Regions from separate parts of the Homo sapiens genome. Here regions 1 and 2 are each linked to region 3. The links are contacts of gene promoters, found by promoter capture Hi-C in human tissues and cell types (Jung and others, 2019). All regions are on one chromosome and are shown on one strand. Each heading gives the region's core, a stretch centred on a gene start or on the middle of the fragment in contact. The rest is flanking DNA. Distances are from core to core; before and after follow the strand shown. Region 1 has its middle 5.0 kb from the start of PRMT2. Region 2 overlaps S100B (S100 calcium binding protein B). Region 3 holds the start of SLC19A1 (solute carrier family 19 member 1).

Evidence for each region. Contacts are between HindIII fragments. The study calls those that stand out against the background at their distance.
Region 1: a contact is called between a fragment that was not itself captured here and the fragment with the promoter of SLC19A1 in region 3, in 1 of the 25 tissues and cell types used here (dorsolateral prefrontal cortex).
Region 2: a fragment that was not itself captured here is called in contact with the fragment with the promoter of SLC19A1 in region 3 in 1 of the 25 tissues and cell types used here (dorsolateral prefrontal cortex).

What each region holds. Positions count from the first base shown.
Region 1 is chr21:46,629,338-46,632,037 of GRCh38, forward strand. No RefSeq gene overlaps it. Among named protein-coding and RNA genes, the nearest start is that of PRMT2, 5.0 kb to the right of the region's middle. The HindIII fragment of the contact is 6,587 bases long and covers 1-2,700 here.
Region 2 is chr21:46,596,752-46,599,451 of GRCh38, forward strand. It overlaps S100B (S100 calcium binding protein B), which reads right to left. Exons shown (of 3, transcript NM_006272.3): 3 at 1,853-2,700. The coding sequence ends at 2,612. Among named protein-coding and RNA genes, the nearest start is that of S100B, 7.0 kb to the right of the region's middle. The HindIII fragment of the contact is 6,650 bases long and covers 1-2,700 here.
Region 3 is chr21:45,541,151-45,543,850 of GRCh38, forward strand. SLC19A1 (solute carrier family 19 member 1) reads right to left here and starts at 1,290. Exons shown (of 6, transcript NM_194255.4): 1 at 1,218-1,290. RefSeq lists silencers at 724-783, 1,134-1,443, 1,484-1,563 and an enhancer at 1,418-1,930. The HindIII fragment of the contact is 13,138 bases long and covers 1-2,700 here.

The sequences.
Region 1 (2,700 bases), core at 100-2,599, 1.1 Mb after region 3:
GTGTGTCATGTTGGTTAAATGAGCTGTTTGAATCTCTGTCCTCCGCCTTTTTGTTCTGAGTTACGTGACAGGTGTGTTAAATTCCCCAACTACAATTATGGATGGTTCCGTTTCTCCTTTGAGTTATATTAATTTTTGAATTTCTGGATTTTATATTTTGAAGGTATGTTATAGACACACAAATCTGGGGCTGCTATTTCTTTCTACTGAATTGACATTTTATCATTATGAAATAATTCTCTTATTTCTGGTAATACCATTTGCATTAAAGTCTGCTTTTTACAATATCAGTATGATTTGTGTTTTACACTATCAGTATGGTTTGTGTTGGTGTGGTATTGTTTCACTCTTTTACTTTCAACTAAATGTTTCTTTATAGTAAAGTATGTTTCTTATAACTACCATTTAGTCAAATCTCTAAAAGAGATACTTAAAAATATTGGCATTGGCCGGGCACGGTGGCTCACACCTGTAATCCCAGCACTTTGGGAGGCTGAGGTGGGTGGATCACTTGAGGTCAGGAGTTCGAGATCAGGCAGACCAACATGGTGAAACCTCATCTCTACTAAATATACAGAAAAAAAAATTAGCTGGGAAGGGTGGCACACGGCTTTAATTCCAGCTACTCGGGAGGCTGAGGCATGAGAATCGTTTAAACCCAGGAAGCAGAGGTTGCAGTGATCTGAGATTGTGCTACTGTACTTTAGCCTGGGTGACAGGGCTAGACTCTGTCTCAAAAAAAAAAAAAAAAGGCATGTTTTCTATCTTTACATTTAATGTTGTTACAAATATAGTTGGGTTTAATTCTGCCACCTTGCTGTTTATTTTTATTTTATTTTTTATTATACTTTAAGTTCTGGGATACATGCCTAGAACGTGAAGGTTTGTTACATAGGTACACACGTGCCATGGTGGTTTGCTGCACTGCTGTTTATTTTTCATTTGTCTTGTCTGTTTTTTATTTCTGTAGTACTCTCTTACTGTTTTCTTTTCCATTTTTAAAATTTATTATTTTTCTTTTATCTTCTATTTTGCTTGTTGTCATACATCATTGTATTTTTTGAGATCTCATTATGCACTCTTGACCTGCCTGAAGTTATTAGGATACTTTTGCTTTGTCCTAACAAAGATCCAGCACGTTACAATTGTTTATTTATCCCCCTTGCTCTGTGTGCGGCTGTTGGCATATATTCCACCTCTACACATTATAAACCTCACAAGTCACAATTATTGTTGATTTAAGGACAAATGTTAAAAATACATTTATCCATTTATTTACACTTTCTAGTACTCTTCTGTCCTTCCTGCAGTTATGAGATTATCTTATTTTAGCCTGAAGTTCTTCTTTTAGCATTTTAGTGCATGTTTGCTTCAGTCAGATTCTGTTTATCTGAAAATGAATTTATTTTGACTTCCTTTGTAATGGCTATTCTTCTTAGGCTTAGAATTATACATCAGCAGATTTTTCTCTTTTTTTTTTATCATTATACTGTAAGTTCTGGGATACATGTGCAGAATGTGCAGGTTTGTTACATATACACGTGCCATGGTGGTTTGCTGCACCCATCAACCCATCATCTACATTAGGTATTTCTCCTAGTACTATCCCTCCCCTAGCCCCCCACCCGCTGACAGGTCCTGGTGTGAGATGTTCCCCTCCCTGTGTCCACATGTTCTAATTGTTCAGCTCCCACTTATGAGTGAGAACATGTGGTGTTTGGTTTTCTGTTCTTGTGTTAGTTGCTGAGAATGATGGTTTCCAGTTTCATCCATGTCCCTGCAAAGGACATGAACTCATCCTTTTTATGGCTGCATAGTATTCCATGGTGTATATGTGCCACATTTTCTTTATCCAGTCCATCACTGATGGGCATTTGTGTTGGTTCCAAGTCTTTGCTATTGTGAACAGTGCTGCAATAAACATACGTGTGTGCATGTGTCTTCATAGTAGAATGATTTATATTCCTTTGGGCATATACCCAGTGATGGGATTGCTGGGTCAAATGGTATTTCTGGTTCTAGATCATTGAGGAATCGCCACACTGTCTTCCACAATGGTTGAACTAATTTACACTCCCACTAACAGCGTAAAAGCGTTCCTATTTCTCCACATCCTCTCCAGCATCTGTTGTTTCCTGACTTTCTAATGATCACCTTTCTAACTGGTGTGAGATGATATCTCATTGTGGTTTTGATTTGCATTTCTGTAATGACCAGTGATGAAGAGTTTTTTTTCACGTTTATTGGCCGCATTAATGTCTTCTTTTGAGAAGGGTTCATTTCTCTTCATTATTTTTTCTCTAATCTTATCTTCACACTTTATTTCATTAAGTTGATCTTCAGTCTCTGATATCCTTTCTTTTACCTGATTGATTTGGCTATTGATATTTGTGTATGCTTCATGAAGTTCTCGTGCTGTGTTTTTCAGCTCCATCAGGCCATTTATGTTCTTCCATTTGGGGCTGGGTTTATAGTTTTGTAACCCCTATGCCAAATGTTGACACCTTATAGTAATTGGCAGGGATAAGTAGGAAATTGCTTGATAAATAAATGCAAACAAAAATGTATGCTGGCAATTCTTAAGACATTTCTAAATTACTTTGCCACTATTTTTAAAGCTAACTTATTTATTAAAGATTTTAAGTAAACTTAACATTTGACTAGTCTTTCCCTTTTTCTAATAAAGTATTTTATTTGAGC
Region 2 (2,700 bases), core at 39-2,538, 1.1 Mb after region 3:
CAGCAGCCCCTGTAGAGGATGGTCCGCAGCGTCCAGAGATGGTGGGTTCCTGCAGCCCAACTTCTCAACAGCACCTTCTCACTGCAAGTCAACAAATGGGGTCCTCAGCTTGGCCCCAGGGTCTCCACCCTGAGAGACCAACACTGCTGGCAGGGCCAGATTTGCGAAGTGGCTGTGGCCCAGAATCTTGTGGATCAAACGGAGAAATTGATGGAGCACAGAAAATTTCTGTGGCTGAACTGGCCATGGAAATGGCAGCCTGGGCAACAGGTTCATGAAAACAGACTTTTCACACCTGGTCCTGCTCTCCAGGCCTGAGCGAACTCCATGTGTTCCTGGTCAAAGCTGGGGGCGGGTTTCCCCCACCCCCTTGCCCGGGCCCATCCCCTGTCCACCTGGGGATGCTGGAGGCAGCCTTTGGGGTAGGCCAGGCCTGTGCTGGCCACCAAGCTGTGGCGACTACCACCACCCACTCATGGAACTGGAAGGTGCCTCTGGGTGAGGGCGGGCCACACTCAGCTAGGGATTGCCAGGAGAGGACGGTTGGCATTTACAGCCTGGAACTAACGGCAGTTGATTGGATAAGTCCCCCCAGACCCCCTTTGGATGGTGGAGGAGCCCCCGTGTGCTCAGAAGCTGCCCTGGGAATCCCTGAGGGATGGTGCTGGAGCCAAGCTCCTTGGAGGACCAATGTTCTCCCTATCTGGTTTGGAAGCAGAGTAGGCTTCTGGGGACTTAGTCACTTTAGGATTCTTGGATCAGTGTGGGCAAAAGAGGCTCTGGAAGGGCCGATTCAACTTCCGGCCGAGGCGGCAGAGCATCCTCTGGGGAGGAATGCAGGTGGGAGGCGGGCACCCGAGCCAAGGGCAGCCCAGAGCTGCCCCCCGGCAGCAGCGCCCCTCCCGCCCCCCAACTTAAGGTCGCACCCTGGGCCTCCCAAGCTTGGTCTCCTGCCCGCCAGCCCAGAGCATGCACCAGGACCAGCTTTGCAGGGCCCGGTGCGAAATGAAAACATCGCCCTTTGGCCAAAAGTAACCACGAATTTCCAGAAGGCGAGAGCTGAGCGAGAAGTGAGCACAGGGCCCTGGGGACTCCCCAGGTGGCTAGATGTGAAGTGGCCTCGCTGGGTCCCCTCCGGCCTCTCCCAGGCCCCTCTCACCAACCCATCTCTCGGCCATCACAGCTGTGGTTCCTACCTCTGCCCCACCCAGCCTCGGGCCCTGCGAGCCTCCGGGCCTCCCACACTGCCTGGGACAGGCAGGACTTCCTGTTTTACCCGCTACTGTTCAGAAGGCACAGAGGGACCCTGAGGAACGTGAGCTTTCTGAGATGGAGGCCAAGGACCACGGGGAGCGCAGTGAACACCGGGAATGGGGCTGGTGGCCCAGCATGCATTGTGGAAAGGCACGTGACTGCCCGGGACCATTGGCAGCTCCCCTTCCTGGTGATTGGCTTAGGGAAGAACATGTGACCCAACAGGCCGGAAGTCCCCTGTGGAGTGGCTGGACGCCCCCGGGGAAGCCTCCCCCTAGCGGGGGCAGAAGGGAAGCCGCGTTTTTTGCTTGCGTTGCCTTTTGATGGCGCTGGATCGCTGTTGCTGCGCTTTTTTTTTTTTTGAGAAGGAGTCTTGCTCTGTCGCCCAGGCTGGAGTGCAGTGGCGCGATTTCGGCTCACTGCAACCTCCACCTCCCGGGTTCAAGCGATTCTCCTGCCTCAGCCTCCCAAGTAGCTGGGAATATAGGCACGCGCCACCACGCCAGGCTACTTTTTGTATTTTTGGTAGAGACGGGGTTTCACCATGTTGGTCAGGCTGGTCTCCAACTCCTGACCTTGTGATCCACCTGCCTCGGCCTCCCAAGCTGCGCTCTTTTTATTGAACGCAGGCCCTCGCGGTGGCTCAGAGCCCCCGGTAGTGCCCTCGGAAGCCGCATGTGCTGGAGGCACGTTGGAGGCAAGGATCCTGCAGCCGCGACTTGAATCGCATGGGTCACGGAGGCCACGCTGGAGCCCCCAGAGCTGGCTCGGATTGCGAGTTCTGATGGAGTTGCTTTTTCCAGGAGCGCTGCCAGCGCTGAGCGTTCACCTGGTGATCAGGCGCATCCCGGGAAGCAGGCCGAAGCCACCACGCCCTTGCAGGGCCACACCGGCCAACCAGCTGTTATCTGCATGGATGAGGAACGCATTTAAAGAACAGCAGTGTTTTCAAATAATGCTGGATAAGGCTTTGTTTTTTAAAGGTAGTGGAAGTTTTAAGGGTGCCCCGGGGTAATTTCTGTAGTCAGGGTTCCCTCCGGGTTAGGGTCTACACGGCCATGGCGGGCTGCACGGTGCACGCTTTATCACTGAGACCTGACTCCTAAGTTACTGTTAACAAGAGTCCCTGGGGCCAGTCAGCTTACACACAGGCCTAATATAGCAGAAAGAATGATGCAGGCCGTTAAAACAGCCTTTGGAAAGAGGTTTTCAATTTTTCAATCACAAAGCAAATCAAGCTTCCTAATTAGCTACAACACGGCTGGAAAGCTCAGCTCCTACTAGGCTGCAAGCCCTTGCTGTCTGCTTTCTTGCATGACCGTCTCTGTTACAGGAAAGGTTTGGCTGCTTTCTAATCTCACTCATGTTCAAAGAACTCGTGGCAGGCAGTAGTAACCATGGCAACAAAGGCCATGAATTCCTGGAAGTCACATTCGCCGTCTCCAT
Region 3 (2,700 bases), core at 40-2,539:
TTTCTCATCTGTGTCCAGCAGAGATAACTGTACTATCTGGAATTATAAAAATCCACCAAAGCCCCTTCGGAAAGAAAGCAATTAGCAATTGCAACAAGCAGTGCACAGGTGGCACCCAGGCAAAGGCGGCCAGTGAGATGCAGCCTGGCTCCCAGGCCTGGACAGGGCAGGCAGGTGCACTGGGCCAGAGGCACCTCGGCTCTGCTGATTGAATCTGGGCTGTGCGGGGATCCTCGGGTCTCCGTAGGGGGAGGCCACCTCTTTACAGGGCGGCCAACAGGCGCCTCCAAGGACTTTATCCCACCTTCCCTCTGGATGCATTCTGGATTTCGGGGCCAGCTTAGTTGGCCTGTGTCCTGAGGCCAGGCAGGCCAGACTCCCCAGGACAGGAGTTTCCGATGGACAGGACCCTAGGGGGATGGCTTTCCTGCTGTAGCGGTGTTGGAAGGACCCACTCGGGAAAGGCTCCAGCGGCTGTCCAGGCTCTCTCTGAGACGCCTCGGGATTGCTCCGCTGGATCCGCACCCACAGCTGCTCCAAGGGGAAGTTGCACCTACAAAGCTTCTGGCACAGGAGACAATGGTCTGGAGATGTGCCAGGGGCCCGCCCCACGCGTGGCTGGCAGGGTTCACCCACCGGCTGGCCCGTCCCGAAGCAACACGTGCCTGGGCGCGAACGCCGGATCCACGCTTTCCTCCAGACCCGGGGGTGGGACTTGGCGCCCCAGGATGACGCGGAGGGCAGGCTGGGGGCCGGGACTCCCCACCCCATTCGCAGGCTGCGGCGGAAAGCGAGCGGCGGGAAACCCGCTGCACAGCAACGGTTCTGCCAGGCGCCCGGGCCACCGCGACCCCCGCGGAGACCCCGGCCCACGCCCCGCACCCTCCCCAGGGCCCCCCAGACCCCAGGCTGCAGACCGCAGACCCCGGCCACGCCCCGCACCCTCCCCAGGGCCCCCCAGACCCCAGGCTGCAGACCGCAGACCCCGGCCCACGCCCCGCACCCTCCCCAGGGCCCCGCGGACCCCAGGCTGCAGACCGCAGACCCCGGCCCACGCCCCGCACCCTCCCCAGGGCCCCGCGGACCCCAGCGCCAGCCCCCACACTCACCTCACAGGGCCCTGCAAACCTCGGCCCGCGCCCCGCACTCACCCCAGGGCCCCGAGACACCCCGCAGCCCCCGACACGCGGCCCCGTGGCCCCGTTCCCCACCGGTACCTGCGACTCGGCGGGGCGGCTGCCCTGGGGCTCCCGGACCCGGCCCCGCGCACGCGGACTCCGGGACTACAGCGCCCACAAGGCGGCGCGGCGGGCGCGCGGCTGCGGGGTGGGCGGGTCCGTCCCGCCGAACGCGTCCTGAGGGCGGGGCCTCGCGCGTGGCCGGGCGCTGCGGCAGGAGCGTCCCCACGGGGCACCCTCCCACCCACGGCCGTCTCCCAGCCCCGGCGCCGGCCTCTCCCCACCCGGTCACCGCCGGGGTCACGCGGCCCCTCGTGCTGCGGCCCTACCCCTGGGGCCGCCCCCTGACCCCGACCGCCCCTCGGGCCCCCACCCCCGCCGGCGTCAGCATCCTGGGGTGCCACTCGCGGAGGTGTCGGTCCCTCGGGCGGGCACCCTGCCATCCCTCTCCCCCGCGTTCTTCCCACCCCCGGTCCCCTCCTGACCCCCCCTCCTCGACGAGGCCTTGTGCGTTTTCCTTTTGGCACCCTGGAACACCTGCATTCCTGGCCGCAAGCTGGATCCGGGACGCGGGTCGGGCCCACGCGCCCTCAGGGGTGGCCCTGGGCCGCCTTCGTGGGGCTCCAACAGGGACACGCACAGCCTGCTCTTGGGGACCGCACGGCCCCGAACTCGGCGCCCCCGGGACCCCGCCGCCCGCCCTCCTGCCTGACCGTGACCCGTACGGGCTTGTACCAAGGAGCAAGCCGGATCCAGGACGTGGCCCGGGGCCACCAGTCCCCATCCCAGCAGGGACAGCCCGGGGGAGACCCGCGCAGGCCTCGCAGACGGCAGCGCAGTCACACTCAGGAAGGGGGGCCTGGGCCACTCTCCCAGGAAGGCGTGGGGCTGCGGCAGACAGCACCGCCGAAAGCCCAAGGCCTGTGCAGGACACGGGGAGAAGTGGGGGGCCTCAGGGTCACTTTCCCCTGGAGTTACCCAGGGCCTGGCTATGGGGAGGGAAGCCAAGCCGAGGGCTGTGGGGGCCCCAAGGCTAAGGAGGAGCCAGGAAGTCCACTGCACAGAACAGAAGGGGACGGCCACCGTGGTACCCACAGCTCAAGAGTGCGGGTCCCAGGCGAGGGGTGAGTCTGGGGCAGCAGCCCCTGGAATGTACCCCTTCCGGAGTGTAGACAGCACAATCCGCGACCTGCCTCCTGGTGTTGCGGGGGTGCTCTTGGTCTCCCGCCCACCAGCAGGGCAACCCCACCAGGAAGCCAACACAGGGCCCTTGCCCTAAATGGCCGCCTGCCCAAAGCTCTGGCCTGGGCCTTCTTTCCAGAGTCCTGAGTGTAGCAAGCCACACGAACAAATCTCAAAGGAACTTAAAAAGGATTTGTTGGCTGGAAATGGGGGATCTGGGGTAGCTTGCAGAATTTAAGGGAACACTACAGGATGGAGCGCCTCACCTGGAGGGACCCCCTGCTTTGTGGGAGCCCTGGCTCTCTCCCCTGTACTGGCCTTCTCCACGGGTGGGCAGAAC